3 separate regions of the Homo sapiens genome follow, and regions 1 and 3 are each linked to region 2. Evidence: promoter capture Hi-C in 16 types of primary human blood cells and fetal thymus (Javierre and others, 2016). All regions are on one chromosome and are shown on one strand. Each heading gives the region's core, a stretch centred on a gene start or on the middle of the fragment in contact. The rest is flanking DNA. Distances are from core to core; before and after follow the strand shown.

Region 1 (4,237 bases), core at 602-3,101, 650 kb before region 2:
TTCCGACTGCAGAGACTCTCAATTCATATACCAAATTTTCATCAAATATTTGATCTGTATTTAGATTTTGTAAACCTTATAGTTGAAAATGTAGATTCACTTTCCAAACATACTTGGAAGTTTTCCCATAATTGAATCAAGTACAAGTTTTAAAATTTAAATTAATTAAAAGTACATGAAATTTAAAATTAGTTCCTCAGTCTTGCTTGTCACATTTCAAGTGCTTAATAGCCATGTATGGCTAGTGGCTATTGTGTGGGTCAGCGCAGTTCTAGAGGGACAGGAGCAAAGCAGATTATGGGGACAGAGCATCAGGCATGACCTGGGTTTGGGGCACACAGGTGGAGTGAGATTTATGATGCTGATTGCATGTAGTGGGCTGGAGCTTCTTGAGATCCTCATGGCCTATGGTCATCTGGGCCAGGACCTGCAGGATCAAGTCGCCCCAGCCATGGAGCGAGGAGGGTGGAAAAGGTCAGTCTTTTGCCAGGCTCTGTACAGCCATATGCAAAAGACCTACCAGGAGGACACTCATTTTCCCAGCAGTCAACTCAACAACCCGTATCTACCCTAAAGTGCTTGGAACCTAAGGGAGTGGGAGAGAGGAGAGGCACTGCACTTTTTTTTCTTTTTTTTTTGAGGTGGAATCTTCCTCTGTTGCCCAGGAGAGCAGTGGCGTGATCTCGGCTCACTGCAACCTCTGCCTCCCGGGTTCAAGTGATTCTCCTGCCTCAGTCTCCCAAGTAGCTGGGATTACAGGTGCCCGCCACCACGCCCAGTTAATTTTTGTATTTTTAGTAGAGATGGGGGTTTCACCATGTTGGCCAGGCTGGTCTCGAACTCCTGACCTCAGGTGATCCACCCACCTAGGCCTCCCAAAGTGCTGGGATTACAGGCGTGAGCCACCGTGCCTGGCCGGCACCACTCTTTTATTCTTCCTTTTGCACCTCCTTCCTGTGCATCTTCTGGGTCTCTAGCTCCTCCTGCAGAAGTGAAACCTGATCAGCCATGAGTTGATAATTGTGGGAGCTGCTGGTTGATGGGTATATGGAGACTCATTATACTATTCTACTTCGGCATATGTTTGAAATTCATTTATATATGAATTCATAGATATTATATCCATTTGAATAGTCAAGTTCCTGATATTCCTACAGCCCCATTAACACACCTTCCCCCCATCCCAACCTTTATCTTGTACTCGAAGTCCAGGCCCCAGCCCTCGACTTGCCCTTCTGTCTTCCCTGCTTTACTCCCATAGCAGGCAGCAAAGGGTGTGCGAGTTAATTGTTAAATTCAGTTCAACAAGTTCCTCATTAGGGACAAATTACCTGAGTTTGAAATCTGCTAATTTTCCAATCAGAGTGAGTGTTTGCACTTATGATTTGGAAATAATTACCATATGGTAAAAGCAAAACCTATTTGGGGATTAAAGTAAAGGTGAGGGAGGACAGGAGCTTATTTTGGCAACTTCCCTGGAAACCCACGTTAGCATTTGCAGATTAGTGGAGGTGCCTCTGCAGTTGGGGTGGGAAAGCTCACCTGTAGCACTGTTTTGCAAAGGCTGTTTACTTCATGTGCTAATACCCCTGAAAGGTGACTGTGGCCTTTGAAGGGAGAGCAGTGTGGCTTTTGTAGGCCAGAATTACATCTGGGAAAGAGAAAAGCCTTTTGAATGTAGCTATTTCATCTAAAAATATATCTATACTTTTATTTAAATCTGTCCTCAGTCTGAAGCTTCTGCATGAGTTGGAAATAAAAACATTTCTTTGAGGTAGAAGGGGTGAGTCTAATTGTCCTTTGGGTGATCTCACAATGAATGTAGCAGGGAAAGTTCAACTGAGAGAATTTAAAGAATTATAGGAGAGTAATTGCTGCAGAATACCACTGTGATCCAGAGTGTAGAGATCTAGGTCATTCACCTTCAATAATTTGTCCCAGTCCCAATTACTACATCACTAGTTCTAAAGCTTTAGAAACCCCTTGGTAAAGATTAGTCAAGGTTTCAGGTAATTTACAAGCCAATGCAGAAAAACTTCTGAGATGTTGCTTTTGAAATTTGGAGCCAGGAAAAGCTTTGTCTCTCCTGAGAAGGCATCCTTCCTCCTTTCTGATAACTGTAGTTGTGCAAGTTCTGAGGTTTCTCTTTGTGCCTCAGCTGCCGGGAAACTCAAAACCAAATTTGTAGCTCAAATCGCTGCGTTTACATTTATGGTTGGCACTTCAGCATTCCTCACTTCTTATTTTTTATTTCTACTTTACTAGTTCTTTTTATTTGTCTTTTGTCTTGGGAAACTGGAAACAGCCCCCTCCATGTGTCAACACATCCATCAATAAATAGTAGCTTCTATTCATTTATATATGCTGCCTCTAATCCTTTTAATAACCTAGTCATAATGTCCATTAGGTATGATTATCCTTACTTGCAAGTGAAGAAACAGGCTCAGATAGTCCTTGCCTGAGGCAATAAAGCTATTAAGTGGCACAATTTTTCAGCTCCCTTTCTGTCTGCTTCTGAAGTCTATGCCTTGTGCCTGGGTACATGTAACTGATGCATTGATGAGTCTCAACTCAGTGGTGGACTATACAGGTGAAACCATTTTATTTTTCCCAACCACTGCTTTCAACCATGCAGCACCAAGTCCCTTTTCCCATCCTTTAATGACACCTTGGGTGGACCTCATGACTTGCTGGGCTCTCTTGTTTGGTAAAGCTGACAGTCCCAATTACAATTTCAATATCGTATTCTCTGGTCTGGTGGGTGGGGGAGGACGAGAGAAGGGAGAGAGAAATCTTCCTGCGAAAATGGTCCTTTTGCAGGTGTGATGCTCTGATTTGCTGAGTGAGGTGAAGGGTCTCTGAGCACGGGGCTGGTTCTTTTTTCTGCGGCGACGGTGTTGAACTTCACTTGGATTCTGACTCCTCTGGGGCCTCTTGAAGAGCGGCTCTCTTAGTAAGCCCTGCTGTGCTCCTTCCTGTGGAGCCTTTCCAAATTCAGAAGCTGTGGGCTCACGGGATCAAGGTGGAAGTGATGCTCCCATTTGCTTTCCGGGCACACCGCCCCTCAGTACCTTTTGAACCGCTCACGTTCAGATGTCTCTAGACCACAAGGGGGCACCAGACTCCAGGTTCACATACAACACATCCCTCAAAGAATATGCGTCAAGCTCGCCCACAGTTTCCAAGGCTCCAGGGTGGTCCAGTGTGGGCCTGCGGGTCTGTGCAGCTCCACACGAGCCCAGGCAGTAAAACTGGATGCCAACTTTGCCTTCATGCAGACCTCCGACTCTCCAGGAGCGACCCTCTTAGAGGTCTCCCTTCTACATACAACTCTTGGCTTGGGAGAGCAGGGGAGTCCCAGCACTCCTTTCCTCACCCCTTCCTACTCTGTCCCAAGAAAAGAAAAGCTCCCCCCTCCACCCCAGGAACACTCAACTTCTCTCCCTCCCCTTCCCATCCTCCCGTAGCTACAGAGGCTGGAAAAGAGTGGTTGAAGGGAACGGTCAGAGTCCAAATAGGGCCAGTTCTGCCATCTCTTAGTACTCTCTGAGAACGTGTCTGCTGGCTGGTTGCAGCCCCTCGTTAGGATGTGGGAGCACCTGATGCTTTTTGTTTCCACCTTTGGCAACTCTGGGACAACAGGAAAAGTCCTATCATGCGTGAGCGCCACACACACACGCGCGCGCGCGCGCACACACACACACGCACGCACATACACAAGCACACACACGCACGTGCACACAAGCACGCACACACGCACGCGCGAACACACGCACGAGCACACACACACACAGTGCTTCCCAGCCTTCTCCCATCCTTGCCTATTTAAGATCTCTGGCTTTGCCCTCCCAATTTCCAATGGGAAAGAGCAGAAGGAAAAGCGATGAGGCCTATGGCTGGTGAGACAGGTTTTGGAAGGACTGTTTTGGGTGAGTCTGATAAACTCTAACGAGTTTATTGTAAGACTTGAGAAAGTCAGTGTGAAGCGGGAGGCAGCTTGAGAAACTTTAGCTCTCTACGCCTGTCTTCGCTATGGAGCGCATTCTTTGATATGGAAAAGTGATGCTTCTAAGAACTGTGTAAAGTGTTATGCAAATAGAGCTTCAAAACAAATCCCCTAATGCCCTGCCTTCTTCTAAGCAGGATTACTCTTGGGCTCTAAGCGGCTCCTCTACAGAAATGTTAAACTTCCACTGGAAGTAAGAAGGGGAAGGGGAACGGGGTGATTTTTAACAAG
Region 2 (4,207 bases), core at 1,146-3,645:
GCGCCGTCCGGCCGTTCCCCGGGCCGCGCGGTTGGCGGTGGCGGCGGAGGGGCCTCCCCGCGTGGACCCGCCGTGGCCGTGGCGGCCGCTGCCGCCGCCGCCGCCGCCGCCGCCGCCGCCGCTGCCGCACCCTGAAGGAGGCGGCCCCCGCCCGGGCCGTACAGGCGCCGCAGCTTGGGCGGCAGGTGCAGCTCGGCCTCGAACGGGGCGCTGCTGCTCTTAGGGGAGCCTGCGGGCAAGGGAGAGCTATCAGCCAGCCGGCCGGCCGGGGAGTCCCAGCCAGGGCTGCTGCCGGGGCCCGCCCGCAGTTGCTCCCCCAGTGCCTAGGCCCAGGCGTGCGGGGACCGCGCACCACCAGACTTCGACGCCTTGGCCTCTTTCTCCACTTTTCTTGCTTTTTCTTTTTCTTTCTTTCTCTCCTTCTCCCTTTCTCTGGGTTCCTTCTTTTTTCCCCTTTCCTCTCCCTTCTTTCCGTTCCCTCTCTCACTCTCCCCCTTTTATTTCCTATCTTCCTTCCCTTATCTATTCCTCTTGCCCCTCTCTCCCTTCCTTTTCTCTCCTTACCTTTTTTCTTTTTCTTTCTCCCCCTCCCTTCTTTTCCTCACCTCTCTTTCTCCTTCTCTCCCCCTTTCTTTCTCTTTTTGCAGGCTTTCTCTCCCCTCTCTCCTTCTTTCTTCTTTATTCCTTTCTCTTTCCCCTTTCCTACTCTCTCATTTTTATTTCCCTTCCCACGTCGGGGCAGAGGAAAATCCGAAAACATTCTACAACTTTAAAAGAAAATCACCACTATCCTGAAAACTTTGCGCATGACCTCTGCCCGCTGCTCCACCATGAGGGCAAGGGTTGGCAAGAGGGGTGCAGCCCTGAAGGCGACCGCTGCGGGGCGGGGTGGGGGAAAGCGGCCCTGTGGCCCCAAGTGCAGGCCGCGCCCCAACAGCCCACAGCGGGAGAGGGTGGGGGGGCTTCTTGCACAAAAAGGCAAAGAAAAATCATCCTGGCAAAAATGTTCTGGGAAAGGTCTGGGGCAGAGAGGGAGTGGGAGTGCAGCAGGCGCAGGCCGCTCCTTCCTTTTGAGGAAGCGCCTGGCATAGGTGCCACTGCAGGCTAAAAAAAGAAAAGAAAAAAGTCAGTTTTATTTAAATGCCCCCTTCTCAACCGTCTGCTCCTGCCATCCAAATTGCGCTATGGCCGGACCGCTGGTTTTTGGATTTTAAAAGAAACCAACAGTTCTTTCCTTTCCCTGCGACACCTCTGCAGCAAGCTCGAGGCGAAACTTGAGGATAACAGGTTCGGGGTAAAAGGACATTTGTTCTGGAATTTTTAATTTCAGAAAAAAATAAAATATTTTAAACAGCTCGTCTATTTTAAAAAATAAAATAGCAGAGAAAAAATTAGCATCCAGAAGTCACACATTTCATACATTTTAAATACATTAAGGAGCATTTGGAGAATCCCAGGAAGATGTTTTCTGCAAAGCTTGGGTTTAAAAGGTCACAAGTAATCTGCAATTAAAAAAATAAAACCAAAACATTGCATATACAGAAATCTTCCAAAGAGGAAAGGCCAAGGCTCACTCAGCCTGGAGACCCCGATTCACCAGCTTTTGGGCTTCTTGTCTTCATCAAGTTGGTGCTACAAGGGTCCACCGGCCATCTACTGTTTCTGACCTGTCGCCGCTCTTCAGAGCACACCCAAGGCCACCAAAAGGGGCATTTAAACAACCTAACGATCAACACCGAAAAGCTAAAGGCTCCCTAAGCGAAAACGGGCCTTTTTCTGGAAGCAGGGAGGGAGGGAGGGAGAGACAGCCCTGGCTAGATGTTTAACGCTCTTTGAGGCAGCAGGCCTCAGAGTTATGCCCTCTCCTTCCTTCCTCTCCAAATTGACAATTCCAGGCCACTGGCCCCCGAACACCAAACATCCAAATCAGGGCCCAATGCCCTTAGTAAGTGCCTGACGGGAGCATCCTTACCTTGCACGGCCTTTTCCGGGTCGGCGCGGCTGGTCAGCGGAGCAGGCAAGCTCTGCGCGGCTCCCAGCAACCGCATTTTGCACGGGCTCCTCCGGCCCAGGATGCTGTCGATGCAGTAGGAGGAGAGCAAAGTTGGAGATTTACTTTTGCACTCGGGCCTCTCGGAGCAGCCCTCCTCCTGGTACTGATTGCTCATGGCTGGGGCTTTTTCCCAGGGCGCAGAGAGCGGATCGCCGGCTGCCTCTCCCGGAGGGTGGGATGGATGGGTGTGTGTTGGGGGTGGGGTTAGATAGCGGGTTATAACGGATATTATTGCGATCTTTGTGCCTTTCTGCCTCCCTTGGTTGCCGGCTGCCGGCTCCCGCCCTGCCCGCGGCCCGAGCTCGCCCTCTCCGCGCTCAGGACAAGCGGTAACAAGTGTAGTGAGCAGCGGGCGCTGAGCTCTGGAGTCTCTCTCCTCCACGTGCTGAGAGGCGCCCTCTGATTGGCTCTCGCCAGAGGCCGGGCTGCGTCGGCCTGTGGGCGCGGCGCAAAGCCCGGACTGGATTCCAGAGGGGCAGGCGGGGGTGGGGGCAGCGGGCACGCACCAGAGCCAATTTTCCTTTTCTTTCTTTCTTTTTTTAAGTTACCAATTTTCTAAGTCCGCTATCCTCTTCCTGCAGCTCCTCCTTTGACCCTTTAGTGTTGGCCGAAGTTCTAGCTTATTGGGATGCCAGGCCTGTGAATGCCATCTGGGTGGCGTGCGCCCCTTCCACCAACCCGAGGACCTCGCTCCCTGGAGGCGAGGCCTCGAGGCTCACGTTCAGACTCACTCGGCACTTTTCAAAGCCGATATTGGGCTCCCAGGACACCGCCTTGACCTCCCTGGCGCTCAATTGCCGTCCTCTCTAGGCCGGACGGGCGTCGGGGGGCCAGGGTGACCGCCCCAAGCAAACATCTGCCGTCTGGGAGTTCGCTTTTCTCTTGCGGCCCAAGGCATTGCGCTGTCTATCTTCACCCTGAGCCCGACTGTGTCTCTCTTGTTTGTAGCGTCCCCCAACCGCTCTCCTCTCCGTTTTAAACTCTGGAATGGGAAAAAGCCTCCTTACAGACAAAGCTCTGCCATAGGCGCGCGGCCTTCCCTAGAGCATTTACTGGGTGGGAAGGGACAGGCGAGTATCAGCAGCGAGGAGGGGCGACTGGGGACGAGTCTGGGGGCCTCCTCTTTCTCCCTGGACTCTCTTCCCTCTTTCCCCCACAAATTCGTATCTGTTAGGCCTTCACCCTGAGGCTGTTCACCTTCCAATCGCAGCTAGGGAGCAGAACCCTCAGGGATCCCTGACCTCTCCAGGGTGGAAGGAACCCAAATTCGGCTGCAGCCAAATCTAAGCGTCTAAAATTCTGAATTCTCATGACCTGGCTCCCTTGAGCAAAGGTGAGAGAGTGAACCTTAGAGAGAGCGCCTTTCTTCCCAAACAGTTTCCAGCGCCGAGAACTAAAACCCAACTCCAACTGATGTTGGGTCGAGCCTGGGCCAGCACGGACGCCTTCCCTGCCTGGGTGCAGGTTCCCAGGGATTTCCAGGGGCCCCAACGCTGGCAGAATTGGGGCGAAGGTGGTGGGTGAGAGAGGGGCCAGGGAGGGGGAATCCACGCCGGGTTTTCCTCTCTCAACTCCCTTCAATGTGTCAAAGAGAAAAGCATTTTACAAAGGATTATACTTGAATCACTTACAGTCAGTATTTAAAAATACAAGGATGCATAACTGGGATTTTTTTTTTTCAGCCATAAACATCTGCATAACTCTTGGATGCTGGTGGGTGGGTAGCAGACAGATCGGGCTGCCTCCGCAGGAAACTTCAAGACAAAACTGGGGGGAGGGGATGAAGGGTTGGGAACAGGCACATTAATAATGCGAATACTAATACTGATACTACTACTACTATTAAAGACAGGACAAAAAGAATTCCTCTGTCCCTCTCTCTCTCTCTCTCTGGCTTTTAGCTTAATTCTCATCCGTTTTTTTCTGCACTTGGATGATAGGGCGGGCTGTGGTGGGGAGCGGAGGAGAACCCGAGCCATCGCTGACATTTGATTTTCCTTTAAGCCCTCTCTGCGATTCAAAGTCACCTGGGATCTCTCCTTGCCTTTCCCGCATTCTTCCTTTTCCATCCCCACCAAGAGTTCGGTGTTTTTACACCGTCCGGTTCAGCTTTAAACTAACATTCTGCGCGCTGATTTCCTCCCACATTCCCTC
Region 3 (4,346 bases), core at 195-2,694, 620 kb before region 2:
TAGTTCTTAATCTTCTTTAGGCCACGGACTCTTTTGATAATCTGATAAAAATGATAGATTCTCTATGTATTAAAATGCCGGTATGTGCCAACACTACTCTTTATGTTCAATTTCAAGGAGTTCATTTTTCCTAAAGCAGGACTATGGTCCCCAGCTTAAGCCCACCTCTAAAGGGATTCTTCTATCTCTAAAATGCAGCGATTCTAAGTCCTTTCTATAGAAGTTGTATTTTCATGAATCTTTCCTCAGTGACCCTTTGTAAACCTTTTTTTTTTTTTTTTTTTTTTTGAGACAGAGTTTCACTCTTGTTGCCCAGGCAGGAGTGCAATGGCGCGATCTCGGCTCACCGCAACCTCTGCCTCCCAGGTTCAAGCAATTCTCCTGCCTCAGCCTCCCGAGTAGCTGGGATTACAGGCATGCGCCACCACGCCCGGCTAATTTTGTATTTTTAGTAGGGACGGGGGTTTCTCCATGTTGGTCAGGCTGGTCTCGAATTCCTGACTGCAGGTGATCTGCCCACCTCGGCCTCCCGAAATGCTGGGATTACAAGTGTGAGCCACTGTGCCCGGCCTGTAAACATTTTTATGGCTTGATACAAAAAAAGGGGGGTGCTGAGTGTGCTATTTTATGAAACTAGCTGAATGTTCAGGCCGACCAAACATTCTGTCTCCTGATGTATGACTTCCACATTATGGCAGCACTTAAAAATTTTAAACCATCTCTCAGCACCTGTGTGTTTGACACCCACCACACACTATCTAATGCCAAGTCGCAAAGGTTCAACTTTGTAAATCGAAGGACTGATTCAACTTTGTAAATCAAAGGACTGATTCACAGTTATTTGCCTCTTGTTTCCAGCTGTGGTCTGCATCAGGTCGAAGAAATGTTGTAATACACAGAAGCACCACAAGATGACACCCTTGGGAAAGTCTTGCTTTGCAGGTTGGTTTCCCAGCTCTGACGTCTATTCTAAACATAGCCTTACAAAATGCTTGTGGAAGAGGGAAGAGAATCTATTACTGGGGAGGAAAAACACCAATGACAAAACAACCCTGGCACTTTCCTGAGTTTTGGGATACAGAGTCAAGTCTTGATTACTTTCTTCTGCTTCTTAATTATCAGTTTTTGCAGGCAGACACATAGATTTATGTAACACATAAGCATATCTTTCATACACATCTATTTTCTGCCGATGCTGATGCTCTATGTGATTTAGAAGCTGTTCATAACTTGGGAGAAGAGCCTTTCTTCTTTTGTATTGTAAGCTTTCACATCCACTTTTTTTATTGCCTCTGTCCCCTACTTCACTGTCAGTAAGAATATTGGGTTTGCATGGAAACATCATAAAATGCCTTTATGGAAAGAGGAAAGTGTGGTTAGACCAGCTTTTTCTGCCATGAATATCAGGCCAACTGGAGAGAAGATCAAAGCGAAAGGTGAGGGCAGAGTGGGCTAGGATGGAAAGCGGGATTACTCACTGAAATTGACATGTCTGTTCAATCCTTTTGCTCCCTCCAAATTTTTCTTAAAAAAGCAATTAAAAAAACCCCATGTTCATGCTACATTAAGCCTCATGTTTCCATTTCTCATTTTACTGCTTGAGTGGCACTTGCTATCACTTGGTAAGCTTACTTAAGAGAGGGAACAATGTCGATTAGAATACAGTTGTCTGTGTTGAGTAAGAGCCCTCCGTTGGTTTGTGGTCTTTGGCAGGCAGCTAGTAAAAATAATAAGCTCTGAACAGATGCCATGTTTCTTTGGCGAATGGTTTTGGCCAGTCTTCTTTTCATTTTTGTACCTGCAAGTGGAAAATTACTGCTTTAATGAGCTATGTTACCCAGTGGTAAAAATGTTTGAAATTACCCAATGGAGGAAAGCAGTCTTTTGAAAGATTTGTGAGAAGAGGTAATACAAAACCCCAACAAATTCCACTGGGAAATTCTTTTCTTACATTTTATTTCAAGGATAGTTCTGCTAGAAACCTGTATTTCTGAGCAAAGAGCTGTGAAACTGAATTCCAAACTAGTTACAACTGTGGGGAACAAGGCACATAGTCATTTAGAGAGCATCTTTCCTGGCCTGGCTCTGTGCTGGGCATTACTGGCAATGCAGGGATTAAAACGACACTGTTTCTCTCCTCTGGGAGCTTCCAACCTAATGGGAAAGACAAACATACAGAGACCCCATGTTATGCCTGGAATTATAGTTGAGTGCCAAGAGCAAAATAAAATAAAAGTACAGCTCTGCTTGGCTGGGTCTGGCTGCAGCAACTCAAAATCTACTAATATGCAGACGTTCGCAAAGTCAAATTATCTTTTGTCCTTGAAATCTAAGTAGCTGGCTGGATGTGGGTTATTTTTTTTCCTTCTTTTTAATACTTTTCTGTTCTTTGTTGTATTTCTAAAATAAGCATGTTTAGTTTGTTGTTGTTTTTTTTTTTTTTTTGCCCTCTTCATAAAAGCAAGTTGAGTCTGAAAAGGAAAATGTACACTTTTTTTGGGTAATAGTCATAATAATGTTACAAAAGCAAACATTTCCTTAGTGGTTACTATGGTGCCAGGTACTGTTCTAAGTGCTTTTATATATCAACTCATTTTAGTCCTCACAACCACCCTATGAGAGAGGTGCTATTATTACACCCATTTTATAGAGGAACATATGGAGGAAAGGTAACTTGCCCAAGGTTACGCAAGGAGTTAAGTGGCTGAGCAGGCTGGCTCCAGAGTCCAAGCTGCCTAATTTACATTCGGAAGGAAGAGTTTTTTCGCCTAAATTAATTTCCCATGTAACTGATGCTTGTCATCTGTCTCGGGATTGGGCTGGGAGAGAAATGATTTTTGAGAGCAGGATTGGGCTGGCGGGGAGATGCTGGGATTGGAAAGTTAGACCCAAATATGGTTCAGGCACTCAGAGAAGCCTCCAAGTGTTGACCAAAGAGTTTCCAGCTGGTTGGCCTAGACTGGCCTAAAGGGCTTGGGGAAATAGAGTCCTTCTCTAGAAAAGCAGCTGACCCAGTAAGGGAGCATGGAGAAGTGGTTGTAGCAGTGGGAAGGCGGGCAGAGGATCCTGGAGAAAGAGATTGGGGGTTAGGGGTGAGGTTAGGGTTAGGAGTTAGGGTTAGGGTTGGGGATTAAGGTTAGGCATTGGAGTTACATGTTAGGGTTGGGTTTGGGGGGTTAGGGTTAGGTAGTAGGGATTGGAGTTATGTGATAGAATGTGGGGTTAGTGTTGTGGTGGAGTTTGGTGTTTGGGTTAGGGTTAAGGGTTTGAGCAACCATTAGGGCTAGGATTTAGGGTGATTTTTAGGAGTTTAGATTAGGGTTAGCATTAGGATTTCAAGTTTGGTCTAGGGCTAGAGGATAGGGATTAGGGTTAGGAGTTATGATTAGTGTTTGGGTCAGGGCAGGCAGTCAACATACAGCTCTTTTGAGAGGCTGAAAGTGCTGGTCACTTGGCTAGGGTTTGGCAAAAGATATTAGAATCTGGGAGAGTGATTTTCAAGAGTAAAGCAAGAGTCAAGCCTACAAGGAGCTCTGAGTTACAGCCCAAATGAGATTCCCTGAACAGAAAGACAACAGGACCAAAGAAGACTCCGTATAACAGGAGCTGGGCTTGGGTTTGGGGGAGGAGCTATGACCAGGCAGTGCCAGGGCGTAAAGGAAAAGTTCAGGAATCATAACTGGGACACAGCCACAGTCAGGTGACCTGCTACTATAGACATCTTGCAGGATGGGCCCTGGGAACTGAGGGCAGAGTTGAGCTGCAGGGTGAGGTCTAGTGTATGTTTATGTAATTTAATTTTTAATAATGACTGTGTTTAACAACTGGCTTGCAAAATTCCTGATGATTTAACAATCAGCTCTTGCAAGTTGGTGCAAGTCTGTTATAGCATACCGCTGGTCTGAACCCCATAGCCAATCCTTTCTATGACTACCACAGCTGTGTCTACATCATTGAGGCTTCTAGTTACACATGAATACCCAGGAGGGAATTGGTTTATCAGGTGTTACCCACTGAAAAGGGAAACTTTAGAAGCATCCCAGTCACAACATTTGAATTATGGGCTTTGTAGAAACAGCTGTCCTACTGTTTAGTTAAAAAAAAAAAAGCGAAAGAAATTCCCTTGGTATTGGTATGCATGTAGATGCATGGTCCTTTTGGCTGTGTGAGGATGATGCTGTGGAAGAAGTGTTGCATCTCATCATGGTGAAAGATGTGTGCTGAAACCCCCTTCAAGGTGCCTACACACACACACACACACACACACACACACACCATTAGATACTTATTGTCAGTTGCTGCTTATGCCTGTATTCCTTATGTATCAGTCAGCTACTGCCACAATT

The links. The method cuts DNA at HindIII sites, captures the fragments that hold promoters and counts their contacts. A CHiCAGO score of 5 or more calls a contact.
Region 1: a contact is called between a fragment that was not itself captured here and the fragment with the promoter of ARX in region 2, in 1 of 17 cell types (fetal thymus). The highest score is 6.9, in fetal thymus.
Region 3: a fragment that was not itself captured here is called in contact with the fragment with the promoter of ARX in region 2 in 1 of 17 cell types (monocytes); the score reaches 5.5 in monocytes.

The regions. Positions count from the first base shown.
Region 1 is chrX:24,368,465-24,372,701 of GRCh38, forward strand. No RefSeq gene overlaps it. Among named protein-coding and RNA genes, the nearest start is that of SUPT20HL1, 9.9 kb to the left of the region's middle. RefSeq lists an enhancer at 3,042-3,817. The HindIII fragment of the contact is 233 bases long and covers 1,736-1,968 here.
Region 2 is chrX:25,013,570-25,017,776 of GRCh38, forward strand. It overlaps ARX (aristaless related homeobox), which reads right to left and starts at 2,396. Exons shown (of 5, transcript NM_139058.3): 1 at 1,973-2,396; 2 at 1-229. The coding sequence starts at 2,168. The HindIII fragment of the contact is 5,488 bases long and covers 1,475-4,207 here.
Region 3 is chrX:24,395,040-24,399,385 of GRCh38, forward strand. No RefSeq gene overlaps it. Among named protein-coding and RNA genes, the nearest start is that of SUPT20HL1, 37 kb to the left of the region's middle. The HindIII fragment of the contact is 362 bases long and covers 1,264-1,625 here.